2 separate regions of the Homo sapiens genome follow, and region 2 is linked to region 1. Evidence: promoter capture Hi-C in human tissues and cell types (Jung and others, 2019). All regions are on one chromosome and are shown on one strand. The core of a region is centred on a gene start or on the middle of the fragment in contact, and the rest is flanking DNA. Distances in the headings are between cores, read along the strand shown. Region 1 holds the start of KLRC3 (killer cell lectin like receptor C3). Region 2 overlaps KLRK1-AS1 (KLRK1 antisense RNA 1).

The links. The method cuts DNA at HindIII sites, captures the fragments that hold promoters and counts their contacts. A contact is called where the count stands out against the background at its distance.
Region 2: a fragment that was not itself captured here is called in contact with the fragment with the promoter of KLRC3 in region 1 in 1 of the 25 tissues and cell types used here (hippocampus).

What each region holds. Positions count from the first base shown.
Region 1 is chr12:10,415,211-10,422,704 of GRCh38, forward strand. It overlaps KLRC3 (killer cell lectin like receptor C3), which reads right to left and starts at 5,385. Exons shown (of 7, transcript NM_002261.3): 1 at 5,154-5,385; 2 at 4,656-4,754; 3 at 3,834-3,878; 4 at 3,134-3,288; 5 at 1,457-1,557; 6 at 494-584. The coding sequence starts at 5,340. The HindIII fragment of the contact is 7,239 bases long and covers 2,102-7,494 here.
Region 2 is chr12:10,365,222-10,372,745 of GRCh38, forward strand. All of the region lies in intron 1 of KLRK1-AS1 (KLRK1 antisense RNA 1), which reads left to right. KLRC4-KLRK1 (KLRC4-KLRK1 readthrough) reads right to left here. Exons shown (of 13, transcript NM_001199805.1): 13 at 7,132-7,524. KLRK1 (killer cell lectin like receptor K1) reads right to left here. Exons shown (of 8, transcript NM_007360.4): 8 at 7,132-7,524. Among named protein-coding and RNA genes, the nearest start is that of KLRK1-AS1, 5.2 kb to the left of the region's middle. RefSeq lists a silencer at 6,976-7,176. The HindIII fragment of the contact is 3,116 bases long and covers 1-3,048 here.

The sequences.
Region 1 (7,494 bases), core at 4,135-6,634:
TTTCATCCACTTAAAATGATTAAAAATCAGTGATGTTTAGTGTATTCACAGAGTTACAACCATCACTGCTACTGAAATTTAGAAAGTTTTCATCACTGACACAAAGAAACATTCTAGCAATTAGTGGACACCTCCTATTTCAACCTCCCTTAGGCATTAGCAACGCTATTTTATTTTCTGTCTCCATGGTTTTGCTTGTTCTTGATACTTCATATAAACTGACCAACATAACATGCAACTTTTAGGAAGCCTGAATGCCACAAACATCACGTTCAGCAAAATGAGCCTGACTTAAATGCGAGGGTATCTGTACTTCCGTAATTGTGTGTATTATATTTCAATAATTGATTTGGAATTTTCTTATTATTAGAGCAAATAACACAATTCATTTTAAGGCTTATGCAATCATAATATCATTTCTGTTTGAACAAATATAAAATTTTATCTGATGCACTGCAAGCTCAAGCGCTTTAATTCTAAAGCTTATGCTCACAATGATTCTTGAAGATCCACACTGGTCTGATATAAGTCCACGTACATGTAGCATTGCACAGTTACGTTCAGCATGATCTGAGTCTTTTATCCTGTAATGGAGAAAAATCCATAATTCTGTTACATTTTATGCAAATGACCCATGAGACAAAAGCATTTTCCATGTACTGTAAGAAAATAATTTTATGAAAAAGGGTAATTAAATTTTTCATATGCTATTACTAAAAGTCATTATTCTGAACACTCAATACAGTACTCCCCCTTCATCCACGGGGGATATGTTTCAAGACCCCACTGAATGTCTGAAATAGTACAGAACCTATAGAGAGATTATGTTTTCTCTACACATTCATAACTGTGATAAAGTTTAATTTAAAAATTAGGCACAATAAGAGATTGACAACAATAACTACTAATAAAAAATTGTAAGCAATATACCAACAGCACTACTATTGTGCTTTGAGGATATTCTTAAGTAAAATAAGGGTGACTTTTTAATGAAAACAAGCACTGCAATTCCCTGATAGTCCATCTCAAGCTTGTCTAACTTACGGCCCATGGGCCGCATGTGGCCCAGGAAGCTTTCAATGCGGCCCAACACAAATACATAAGCTTTCTTAAAACATTCTGAGATATTTTTGCAATTTTTTTGTTTAGCTCATCAGCTAGCGTTAGTGTTAGTGTCTTTTATGTGTGGCCCAAGACTCTTCTTCTTCCAATGTGGCCCACAGAAGCCAAAGATTAGACACCCCTGGTCCATCTCATAACCAAGAAAGTTACTAGCTGACCAATGAGTGGTGGACATATATGGACTACTATGGTCTATTGTAAAATATTTGTATCAACATTTCACTAACTTTCCACATCTTTCTTCATATCAATGATTCCACATAGATTTATTCATATTATTCTTCTGAATTTATCCTTTATATTTTTTTATATAGCACCCTATAAAACAACTTACTCATGTTTGAAAGCCAAACCATTTATTGTCACCCATGGATGATGACTGCTGTTACGAAACACACCAATCCATGAGGAAGGTAAAATGCTGGCCAGAAATTTCTAAAAGAAAAGAAATAATTTTCACTTAAATAATAATTATGAAAACATTACAAAAACAATATATTAAAGTTGAAAACCACTATTTGCAGTGCCAAAAACTTTCATAAATGTTTGAATTTTTTATTTAAATGAACTCTTCAACGTTTATACTTAGTACTTTCATTCTTATTCTCATGTTAATAAAGACATTTTAATTCTTGCAATGTAATAGTTACTCCAATTAACAGAATAAACACAGGAAGGGTTTTAATAAGTTTCCTGATACTGTGCATTCATTTCTCCAGATACTGTGACTAAATCAATCTATTTTTGTGCTATATTTCTCAGAGTTGGAGATTTAGAAGGGAATTGAGGGGTTGTCATTCAGAAATAAATGACATGGAAGCTACAGATTGGGTTTCCTTGGTACCACACCATTCTTTAACTAGATAAGCCCTCAATTTTTATCCGATTCGGTTTTTGTGGAATAACAGGGGTCCTGGCCAGGTGGTGTAGACTCGTCTCTCTCTGCTACTCCCTACTAAAAACAACTATAAACTCTGGGATTAATGAAAGACAAAAGTAATGGAGAACTCTGAAAGGTGGAAAGAGAAAGATGAAATTGTCTGGGACCCTAGCATCAGGGATCAACCAAGTGTCCGAGTGAGCATGTTAAGTCCTCCACACGACAGAAGAAGGTGACCTAGGCCTGCTGTTTCCCTACACCCAACCTGGCAATAGGAGGAGGGTATCGAAGGAGAGTCCCCTCCACAATACCAGGCAAGGCTGGTGCCACTGGCAAGGATGATCTACCAGGAGACCTGCCACCAATACGGAGCTAGAGAAAGTGCTTCCTTCTCATACCAGGAGACACCAGGGTGGTTGTGGGTGAGGAGGATCAGGAAAGGGACCCACGACTACCAATGCACCATCCAGGGTCCTCTTTGCCCCTGAGGGCATGAGACTCACTTCCCCATCTAGAGACATAAGACAGAATGAATTCTTAGTGTTCTTTGTACATAGTACAGCAGTGAACAGTAACAAACTACAGATAACCGCAATAATATGGAGGAATTCCACAAATATCAGATAGGAGTGAAAAAGACAGACATGAAATTCACACTGTATAATTCCGTTTTTTATAAATTCAAGAACAGGCAAACCTTATTTATAACTTCAAAAGTCAAGACAGTGTTTTGGAGAGGAGTCAGGATAAGTGATGAGGGCATACACAGGGGTGGAACTGCTAGAGCTGGAAACTTATTTCATGATCTCACTTGTATCACATGAGATCATTCACTTTGTGATCAATCTGCATGACTAGATCATATCATGCTCAATAAAATTAAATAGTAAAATTTATTGTGGATTCAAAGCATTAATAGAAGCATGGTTTTCCATAAAAAGCAAAAACTGAAAATAAAAGTACATTAGCGGTATATAACTTTAAAAACATTATTAAGTCAATCAACTGAATAATGCATACACTTGAAAATATATAAGCTAAATATATGTACACACATATGGATGTTTTCTACAAATGTATTATTCACTGAAAGAAGCTTTTCATAAAATGTTTGAAACATTTACATCTTACCATTTCTTCTTCATTATCTATACAAAGCAGACTAGAAGAGTTCTTTGAAGCACAGGCCTGCAAACTCTCTTCCCAAGTTCTTCTTTCCTTACCAATGTAATAACAACTGTTGGAATATGTAATCCACTCCTCAGGACAATGGCCACAATGACGTGCTAATAAAGATATGAATTACTATCTAGACCAATATGAATTTTTAAAAATGAAAATTAGTTCACATATTTGCAACAGTATAAACATATATGTGCTTAACATATTTATGCATCCTTACAGGCTTATAAGTATATATTTTTTAATAACTGAGTCAGTCATACACACATACACAGAAAAGGGTTAGCCTCTCTCCCCTAATTGTGTTCCCATATAAAGCAAACCAACAAACAAAAATACACTCCACACATGTCTTGAACCTCACTGATACACAACTGCTTTTTTAGAATAGTAAAATTATTTATTTGGTATCATCTCACAGCAGTAGGAGACTTCTGTTAATTGGGAGAAAGAGGGTAGAATGATTTTAAGTGAGTATTTCTACTTACTGGAGAAAAGGAAATGCTGCCTCATAATCTTTCTTTATAAATATTTATGGCTGAATTTATGGCTTATTTTCTGCAAAAATGCCACTATTCTTTTACATGCCTTAAAACAGACACAAAATATAAATTGTACTAATATCAGAGCATTGAAAATAAAAATGTACCTTTCTGGGTTCTTGCATTCGGGGAAGAATTGTTCTGCTCCAGGACTGTAATAGAAAAATTAAAATGATTTTTATAAAAACTGATATCTAGATAAACCATAATGAGTTTAGTTTCTTACTTTGAAACTTTGTGTGTTATTTAAAATGGGGAGAATCTTTAATAAAATTAACTTTTTCTATAAAAATATATAAAGTAATAGACCTTTGAAATAAACATTTTTAAAGACTTTAGCACAAAACTTCACCATCTCTTGTAGTATTTGATGTAACCACTTTCAAAAATTAGTTTTTCTAAATACTTTTCTTCTATAGCATGCCTTTGAATTATGAAATCAGAAAATATCTTTGTGTGTGTATGTATATACATATATATAGATTACACACAAAAAATAAACACATGTTCTCTACAATGATTTTGTTATTTATGTTGTGAAAAATTCAGAATAACCATATTATTTTGGTTCCAAATTGTACTAATATCAGAACTTTGAAAATAAAAATGTACTTTTCTGGGTTCTTGTATTTGGGGAAGAATTGTTCTGCTCCAGGACTGTAATAGAAAAATTAAAATGATTTTTATAAAAAGTAATATTTAGATAAACCATAATGAGTTTAGTTTCTTACTTTGAAACTTTGTGTGTTATTTAAAATGGGGACAATCTTTAATAAAATTAACTTTTTCTATAAAAATAAATGAAGTAATAGATCTTTGAAAGAAACAGTAAAATAAGAGTTCTATTCTTCAACAGTATGAAATATTTTGAGGCACTTCCAAGCATTAAAGTAAAACGTTCCCTTCTAATCTTTCAAGAATATGCTTACAAGGAATAAGAACTATTGTTTTTAACACAGTGGCCATCAGGACAATGCAAATGATTCCTAGGACCTCGGCAGTGAGCTTTTCTGGAGGTGGCAGTAAACCTGCAGGGAGAGAAATAGAGGCACTGAGAGAGGGGAGATAGAGAGTTGATTAGGATTACATACTAGAGAATTACATACTAGAGAACCCACATGCACAGGGAAACATAATGATAAACTCTGGCCGCTAAATCTACATCTACTCTAGTAATCTTTCTCTCAGAATATACCATTTCATTTTCAGTAAATGTAATGTTCCATGAGTGGATTGCAGATTACAGTTGATTACAGTTGAACAATGCCTGAATAAAATTAGTCTTCTGATTTCATATTAGAATATTAGATCCCATTTATGAACTCTGATTCTCACAAGTGTAAAATATTCCCTAATCTTTCCTCACCCTTCTGCATTCAACTGCACATCCCAGAACAATAACATTGAAGATATATTTAATGTTTTACCTTGGCAGTCATATATTTTATCAATCCCTTGATGATTCAGAGAAGCATTTTGAAGGTTTAATTCTACTTGGAATATTTCCTGTTCGGTTCCTGAAATGGAGCTTTTATTGCCTTTAGGTTTCCTTTGCTGCCACTTTGGGTCCTGGGCCAGACTCACTTCTGAGAAGGTTCCTCTTTGTTTACTCATCTCTGCAGCTGTGTGATGTGAGGGACTGTGCTCTATGATAACTGCACTTAAGAAGCTATAAATGGTGTATATTTTGACAGGATCCCTGGTATAGGCAATGTGCATGTGTTGGGGCTGAGTAATAATGTTTACTTTGCTGTTAACCTAGGTAAAATTCTGCTACTAATTTCCTAAAGCTTTAAACAAAAATCACACGATATAATTGGCCATTTTTTAGATGTATTCTGTATTTGACATAATATTACTAGTGGGAACAATAAAAACATTAAACTTGTGAGAACTAGGAAGTTCATGAAAAAAATTGGTATTAAATTAAGGTTAGATTCTTCAAAAATGTTTAACACCAATAGACTGCATACTTTAACAATTAAAATACTGTATTTAGAAATACACTAATTTTACCATAGTTTTAAGAGTCATTGATGGTTAATGATTGTGTGCCATAAGATAAAATAGTTCTGTCAGCATACAGAGTAACTTCTTATACTAACATACATTGTTAGTGAGTTACATTCATTTATTAAAAGGACCTGAGGTATTGTCAACTGATTATTTTTCTAAATTAGGAAATCAGAAAAATCATTAAAATTTTAAAAATATATCTTGTAAAACATTACATTACTGTATGCATAAATACTATTGAAAACATAATATATTTTTAAATTGCTGCTTTTACACAAGAAATTGGTAATTGATTTAATGACTAAAATAGGAAAACTTAAAATGATAAATAAACGTGTGGGCCGTCTATGGAAGAATAGTGTCCAATCAAACTTTCAGAAAGCTCCTATGATTGTATAAGTCAGTGAGGGTCGCTTTGGTTGTATAAGTAATTGTAATAGTTCAGATAATGTAATTTAATAATCTAGTCAATGAGCTCTGTAGTCAGTGAGACTACAATTAATTCTAGCTTTGCAAGTTGTAATATGTGACCTGTACTAAATTACTTAGTGTCTACTAACCTAGTTTACTAATCTACATTGGGAAAAATAATTTATAAAGTATAATGTATGTAGAAAACTAAACACACAACCTGGCACATATTAGCACTGAATACATAATAGATATTTCAACTATTTTTAACACAATTGCCATTTTATTATTTCTGATTTGCATTAGAGTGTGTTAAAATAACTCATTAATTAGGCGTCTCATGTCAGTGTGGTACATCTTTTTTGCAATGTTTGGTTCAATTGTTTTAAGTCTTCCAATTGTTTATAATTAAGGTCAGATTTGCATTTTATGGAAATGATTTCATCCTTACTTTTATTAAAAATTAAAACTGCTTTCATGAAATCTAGGTGTGTGATTGAGAATTAATGTTTGACATTCACAATTTGATGTATCCATATTAAAAATTTATTTTTAAAGTTTGGTCTAAATATAATATACAATTAAACCAGTAATGATTACAAAATCCAAAATTAATTGTTCATTGTCATGATGGTTATGGGTTTCACTCTAAATTACATGGATTGGCAAACCTATTATTATGTATGCATCTACTTGAGTGATTCTCCAGCGGCAATGATGTGAATACTCTAAGAAATCCTTAAACATAGTTTATATTTTGGCTCGTTTTTCACCTTGAATTATTCACGTGAATAAAGTTCTACCTTGATTTTCGTCTATATCAACTTTACCTCAGGTGCATCACAGCCAGTACTTACAATCTTCTACTAAATGAGATGAGCTAGTAGAGAAACAGGGAGAGGAGCAACACTTACCTACTGTCATCAGAAAGCCACACGCCCTTCAGTGGAGAGGTCAGGTTACCTCTGAAAGACACAAACGTTATCTGTGATCTTCACAGACTGCCCTTTGAAGGGTCAGAGTGAGGCAAGAGTGGAAAAAGTAGATTCCTCACCAATGTGTCACTGCAGATTTGAACAGGAAATTCTCACCCTAGGGCTATTTTGAATCAGTTTGTCTCATCACACACTTTAGAATATAGGAGACTTTGGGTGGCTAGTGTGTCATTTAGTTTGTCCATTTTAAAGTGCCTCTTAGAAATTATTTTTATGGTCAACAAGATGAGGGGAGAGCAGAGATTTGATCCATGCTGGTGATTGTTTCCATCTCAGTCACAAACACCAAAGTTTTGTAACTTTTCAAAAGGATCTTAGGTGGTTGCTTTCTACATTTAGACAAGGT
Region 2 (7,524 bases), core at 241-2,740, 54 kb before region 1:
TCCAATCTATCCCCCCTTACCAAGGCTAATTGCCCCTAAGGAGGTAAGTTCAAACAGATACATGCTCCCACTCTCACCTGAGAAGGAGAAATCGGAGCTCCAGGAAGTTAAAACGAAAGGCTCAAAAAGGTAGGCAGGCCGTCTCAGGTCAAGTCATGCCCAAGTTATGCTTCTGCCTCTTAAGAGGACAAGCAGACCCCCACTAGGACCCAGACGATGCAGTCCAGCTTCAGCACCTACAAAAGTGCCGAGAAGCACTTTTACAAAGGCTAAAGGATGTTAAAAGGAAAAGGCAACCAATATAAAAAAATCTCAGAAGTGCTCCATGGTGCAGATAAAAGCACCAGCCAGTTTTATAGGCATTTTGCTTGTACACTCTGTTTAACCCCGAGGCTGCTGAAAATCAGTGAATAGTAAATACGGCATTTGTAAGGCAGGCCCAAGGAGATATCAGGCATAAATTGCAGAAGTTAGAAGCTCCGTAGGTGTGAATGCTACTCAGCTTATTAAAGTGGCTACCAAGGTGTACATTAACTGAGACCAGGAGGCAAAGAAGAAAGCTGATTGGAGGCTTAATAAAGGCTTATTTACAAGCAGCAGCCCTTATGGGAAGAGAGGCTGGCTTTGCAAGGAGGCATAGATGCGGGTGTGAATGCAGTTGTGGAAAAGGCTAGTCTGGACAGCAATTTGAAAGCCAGCCAAGGCTAGAGAGAGATTAATGTACATGGTGCAAAAGAAAAGGACACTAGAAGGATAAATGTCAAAAGAATAAGGAGAATGGTCAAGGCCATGGTATGAAAAAACCACTGGCCAAGGGCTACTGCACCCAGGAGAAACCCAAGACTGCTGTGAAAGGCAGGATATAAAGGGTCAGAAAAAAGCTCAGATCTGCTCGAAAAGTGTCCAGTACTTAAGCTTTTACATAAGCCAAGAGGAAAGATGGCTTAGTAGTGAACAAAAGCAGGCTGTTTGTGCACTTCCTACTCCAACCACCTGGCGTCGAATAACAGAGTTCCTAAGGGCAGCAAAGTTCTTCCGCATTTAGATCCCAAATTTCTTGCTTGTGGCTAAGCCATTATACAAAGCCACAAAGAGGAGGAAAGAAGGACTCCTCCTCTAGGAGGCCAACCAGAAGAAGGCTTTTCAAAAAATCAAAGAAGCCTTGACTCAGATCCCAGCTTTAGGACTGCCAGATCTAACTAACTAAGCTTATCTTCTTGAATGTCCACAAGTGAAAGGGAGGCCATAAAGATTCTAACTCAAGCCATAAGGTCATGGCATTGCCCAGTGACACACTTATCCAGGCAGTTAGATTCTGTGGCACTTGGATGGCCTCCTTGTTTTAAAGCACTAGCTGCTACTGCCCTACTGGCACAAGAAGCTAATAAACTGACTTTAGAGATGGTGAATACCCTAAACCCGGCTACCTTGCTCCTCATCGAGTCAGTGCCAGGAGACCCCCTTCGTTGCTGTGTAAATGTGATAGATGAAGTGTTCTTAAGCCAGAGAGATTTGACAGATACATCCCTCAGGGACCTGGACATTGAATATTTTACTAATGGAAGCAGTTTCATACTAAACGGAGTCCGCCAAGCTGGGTATGCAGTGGTGACTTTGGATTCAGTAGTAGAGGTGCAGTCTTTGCCTACAAAAACTTCTGCTTAGAAAGCAGAACTAATAGCTCTGACAAGAGCTCTCTGGCTAGCCAAAGACCAAAAGACAAATATTTACACATATTCCAGATATGTTTCTGCCACTTTGCATGTTCATGAGACTATTTACAAAGAAAAAATAATTTTAACTGCTGAAAGTAAAGAAATAAAGTATAAGGAAGAAATTCTAGAGCTCTTAAATGCTGTATAGGCCCCAAAAGGTGGCAGTGATGTACTGCAAGGGGCACCAAAAAGGAAGAATACTAAAGGCTAAAAAAATAAAATAAAATAAGAAAACAGACAAAGAGGCAAAGCAGGCTGCAATGACAACTCCACCTTTTAAAGAGGAAGCCTTAGCTATGCCTCTCCTCCCAGAGATTCCTCTCCTGGATATCCCAAGCTACACTCCAAATGAAAGGGCTTATTTTGCCCAGAAAAATAAAAACTACATTAAAAGGAGATGGTAAATATTATCCAATGGGAGGCTAGCCATACCTGAAATGGTGGCCCCCAGATTTTTAAAAGAGTTCCACCAAGGAACTCACATGGAAAAAAATACAACAACAGAAATGAGGAATGCTATATATCAAAATAGATTGGCTTTAGATTACCTCTTAGCCTCAGGAGGAGGAGTATGTGGAAAATTTAATTTAACCAACTGTTGCCTAGAAATCGATGATAATGGTTGAGCTGTCATGGAAATCACCGCTAGAATGCACACATTGGCCCATATTCCAGTTCAGACTTGGTCTGGGTGGTCCCCGGATTCCTTGTTTGGAGGATGGTTCTCAGCCTTTAGAGGATTCAAAAGCCTCATTGGTGGGTTCTTGGTTATTCTTGGCATCTGCCTCATCCTCCCTTGCCTTTTACCCCTGTTTATTAGAAGTATTCAGTCAACTATGGAGGCAATAGTGGCCTGATACACTACCATGCAGATGATGGCATTAACCAGATATCAGTCGCTGCTGGTAGAAGCAGCAGCTCAGCTCCACGAAGACGTGGCAAATAGTGGTGCTTTCTGTTAACACATTTGTTATAAAAAGCACCAAAGGGGGGAATGGAACAGGAATTAAAAGAAATTAAAGAATGTGTAAGCAAAAACTCAGTTGTATGTAAGAAAACCCAATTCCCCCTGAGGAAGAGAAAGAACTGGAGTCCTTTAAAAATTAACTGCCTGTTTTTCCGTGGCTAGTGAGCCTTATCTCTCCCTTTCCCAGGCATTGTGAAGACCCTGTTTCTCTAGCTGTGCAGCTGCAAGGTCACTAGACAGACAAACTCAAGTCATAAAACATGCTTTTCCTTGAAAAGTAAGAAACAATGTAATGTATGTCTCAATTGAATAACTGTCTTTGTTTCTTGCTTCTGTAATATGCTTCCCCCTGCACAAATCTTCCCCCACAGACAAAATACTTAAAAGATAACTTGACTCTTTGTTCAGGGCTCAGTCATTTGGATGTTAATCCAACTGGGCCAGTGCACCTAAATAATAAAAATCCTCCTCAACCCCTTGGTGTTCCTGATTCCTTATCAATCCTGCTACAGGTGGAGAAAAAAGAAAGACCAGCAGAAAAGAAAAAAACTAGGAGAGGAAGTCAGAGGGAAAGAAAGCAAAAACAGCAAGCATAGAGCCAAACAGCCAGGCAGGCACGCCAAGGGGTAAGTCCCTCTCCCCAAAGAGCTTGGGGACTGGTGCCGGGAGGAGAGCAGAGGAGGTGAAAGGGCATAATTCTTGCAATTTGCGGCAGGCATCTGCCAATCCTCTGGGCCGGTGACTGCCTGGGGCCCAGACTACAGCCGGGCAAATCCCACCCACCCAGCCAGAGAAACTAAGTGTAAAAAGAAAGGAAAAAATATAAAAAGGGAAATCAGGAAAAATAAAAAACACAGGAGAAACAGACAGCTGCGTGTGCGTGGGGGTGGGGCCCGTGCCATGGCCCAGCAGGGCTCGCAGCAGGAGCAGGAGAACTTGGGAAAAGAAAGGGAAACAGGATGAGAGAGAGAGAGAGAGAGAGAGAGGAAAATAGAGCGCAAATGAGAGAGAGAGAGAAATAGAGGGAAAGAGTAAGTAAGAGAGAAACTGGAAGAGACAGAAATCAAAGGAAGATACAGAGAGTGAAACTAGAAAAATAGTGAAAAAGGAAGGCAGAAAGTTAAGACATGCTGAAGATTGTCTGTGAAAGTCATAAGAAAAGCTATAAAAGGGAATTTATGCAAAAAATATTGTATAACTGAAAAACAGGCCTCCTGAATGTAAAATTATTAAAAAAAGTTTATGTACAAGGTATGTAAAAAAATACTTTTAATAACAGGATTATAAAGAGGCATAAGAATACAGATTTTTACCTACATTAAAGGCTAAACTTTTTTTCTGTTTTAAAGATTTAAGCAAGTTTTAAAATGTTAATTGTAAAGGAAATTCTGTGTGTTAACATATTGGCTAAAGTTAAAGGGGTATCATCCAGTTTTTCTGTGAACTGGATATTACAATAAAATCACTATAGATTTTTCTTAAAGCACTAACCTGCTCTTTAACAAAAATTATAAAAAGTTAAAGAATCTATAAAAGTCTTACCTTATAGTTAGACATTAAAATTGGATAAATAATGTCTACAAGATTTTATTAAAATTAAGTTGAACATCAATAGCACATTAATATAATGGTAAAATTTAACTTATCTGGTATAAAATCATACAAAAACATTGTCAAATATAAAATGGTGTTTGGCTTTCTTAAGGCCTAAAGGCAACCCGGTAAGTCACAAGGACCCTCATCCCCAAGGCCACAGAGTGCAGGGTGGTGAAGGCCATAAGAAGGCCAAACATTAAGAGGGGGCAGGGCCACAGTGTCTCCTGGGCAGCGCTGAGCAGGAATAGAGCAAGGGGCATAACCATGAGGCCTCAAGCCCCAGGATATGCAGCAGAAATTATATACTTAATCTATCTTCCACTTTCCCTTCCCTTGGAGCTAAAAGTCTTTTAGCACAGGTAGCACCCCTAGAATTTCCAGTACACCAGCACCAGCCTGAAAACCACATCCTTATCAAAAGATAGAAAGAAAAAAAAACTCAAGCCAGCCTGGGAAGAACCCTATTTTATGCTATTAACCACTGAGACTGCCGTCCGCACAGCCAAGAAAAAAATGGTCCCACCATACTCGAGTCAAGAAAACATCTTCCTCTCAGAATCATGGGTTACTGTACTAGGATTAAGCCCTACTAAGTTAAAGTTAAAGAAAGCTTAATTTTCATATACCTTCTATATCGCTTCCTTTCCTTTCCGTATTTTGTTACTAGCTCCGTTGTTATTAATGTAACTAAGTCTGACTCACCTCAGACCATTGCCTTTAACTCTTGCTCTGTCATACCTTGTGGAAATGTAAAATATCAACAACAGCTAGCCTTTTCACACAAATATTTATGTCCCAGCCCTCTAACTGACACAGGTACCCCTAGCAGTCATTGTTGTAATGACCTGCAGCCAAGATGCTGATTTTCTGCTCCTACAGGCTGGCAACCTTGTAGTAAATGGGACCACATCCCTTAAACTACCCAGGAGCAAAGCTGGACTTCCACGAAAAAGGTTTGTGCAAATCTAAAACCCCTCATCTATTTCACTAAAAGGACTACCCCTTCTCACTGTCAGCCTTATCAGTGTAACCCTGTCCTTCTCTTTATCACCACCTCCACCTTAACTAACTCTAGACCTGCCCTTAGTCGCTTCTGTGGTATGGGGATTGACATAAATGGAAAAGACCCCCTAGGTATTTTTAAAATATGGATTTTTCCCCCATCTCCCCCTTCTTCAGTAGCCTCAGTTCTAGATCCCACACCAGTTGCTCCTACATCTAATAAAACTAGGGTGTCTATTGTAAAAATAAGATATCTAAGACAGACCTTAGCCATCAAGACAAAATATCAAGATGCAAATTCCTGGCTGAAATGGATTAAATAATCCATTCACACTTTAAATAAAAGCGATTATTACGCTTGTACACACGGTAGGCCAGAGGCCCAGATTATCTCCTTTCCACTTGGATGGTCTCCTTGTCATCCAGATATGGAGTGTATGGTGGTTCTTTTTCAAAATCCCACTGCTTGGGATAATCCATCATACTGAGCGCTCTCTGCTATTTCCTGAAATTCAACACCCTGCGGGTCAGCCTCCGAGGGCAATCCAGCTTCCACCTCTAAATGCCAAGTTTACTTTGTGCCTCTCATGGCAGGAGGAAAATTTGGCGTTCCTTGAAAGCATAAAAGGATACAAGAAGCCCAAGCCTTTCCAAGAACTTGCCCATCAGTCCATGCTTAGCCATCCCCAAGCAAATGTATAGTGGTACTGTGGAAGACCTTTACTGGACACTCGGCCAAATAACTGGAGCAGTACTTGTGCTCTAATCCAATTGGCTATCCGCTTCACGCTGGCATTTCGTCAATCTAAAAAGGTAAAAACAAAACACCGCAGGCCAAAGGAAACTCCTTGAGTCCTTTAATCCTCAGGTTTACGTAAATGTTATTAAGGTCCGTGAGAAGTGCCAAATAAGTTTAAAGCACAAAAATCAAATAGCTGCAAAATTTAAATCCATGTTGGTCTGGTAGGTAACCATAAATTAAAAAAAAATTTAACTTCAATTCAATTCTCACCTCGTTTGCCCTTACTATTGGTGTACTTATTCTTGTAGACTGTTATATTATGCCCTGCCTTCAAGGTTTTATGCAAAAACTTGTCTCTGCTGCTCTTACAGAGTTAACTCCTAACTATCCTCCACCCTATTGAAAAAAAATTACCTCTCTTAGAAGGACAAAGAATTAAGTCAAAACATATTAAACAAGACTGAGGAGGAATTATGAAATAAAAAAAGGGGGAATATTGTAAAAAGTAAAGTAGAGGTTCCTCTTCAAAGACTTTCCTCCCCATCTAATTAGAAATAAACAGTAACTTCTCTTAGAAGCAAAATTTATTCAAAGACCTGTGCTCCTAAATATTTGCCCTGGCATGCTTATACTGGTCCAAGCAAGCGTTAGGTCATAGCCTGTTCCTCTTCCTTATTTAAAAGTGTTTTTATCTTTCTCAGCATTCCACAAGTTACTTCCTCCTTCCTTTGTTCTCCTCTACCTTTGCCTCTTTTAAAAAGTTCTAAGTTGCTAGCCAATCGGGACAAATACAGAATGTGAGGTCCCGTTCCAGCCAGTGGAAACCGGACACAGCAGTAGTGTGGACATGTCAGGTTATAAATGACCCTGTCTCCTTTGTTCGGTGTACTCTCATGGCAGAACTGCTAGTGAGTGTACCCTTTCTGCAGGAAGTAAAAAATGGCCTTACTAAATAAATTAAATTTATGTTCAAGTCCTATTTCTTTATGACACCGGGGAACAAGCATTTCAAACAATTCCATTCTAATAACCCCAAGTCTTAGCTTTTTACGGAATCAATTGTAAAGTCTAAAGTCCAAAATCTTATCTAAATATCATCAAACAAGATATGCATGAGACTCAAGATTCTATTTATTCAGAGGCAAAATTCCTTCTTAACTGTGAACCTGTGAAACCAAACAAGTTATGTGCTTCCAAAATACAATAGTGGGACAAACATAGGATGGATATTACTATTCCAAAAGGAAGAAAGAGAGGAAGAGAAACAGTCATGGGACTCAAGCAAGTACAAATCATAGCAAAGGAAACGTCCTAAGATCTTACTTAAGGCTGGAGAATAATGCCTTTAAGATAATCATGGCCCACTGGGGCAGCACCACCTCCCTGACCCCGTTGGGTGGAGGACCCATTAAAAGTGGCAGCATGACCCCCACAGGCAGGGAAGGCACTGCCCATGCTGTGTCTCTCTGCTGTGGCCCTGCCCATGAGGCAATTTCCTGTGG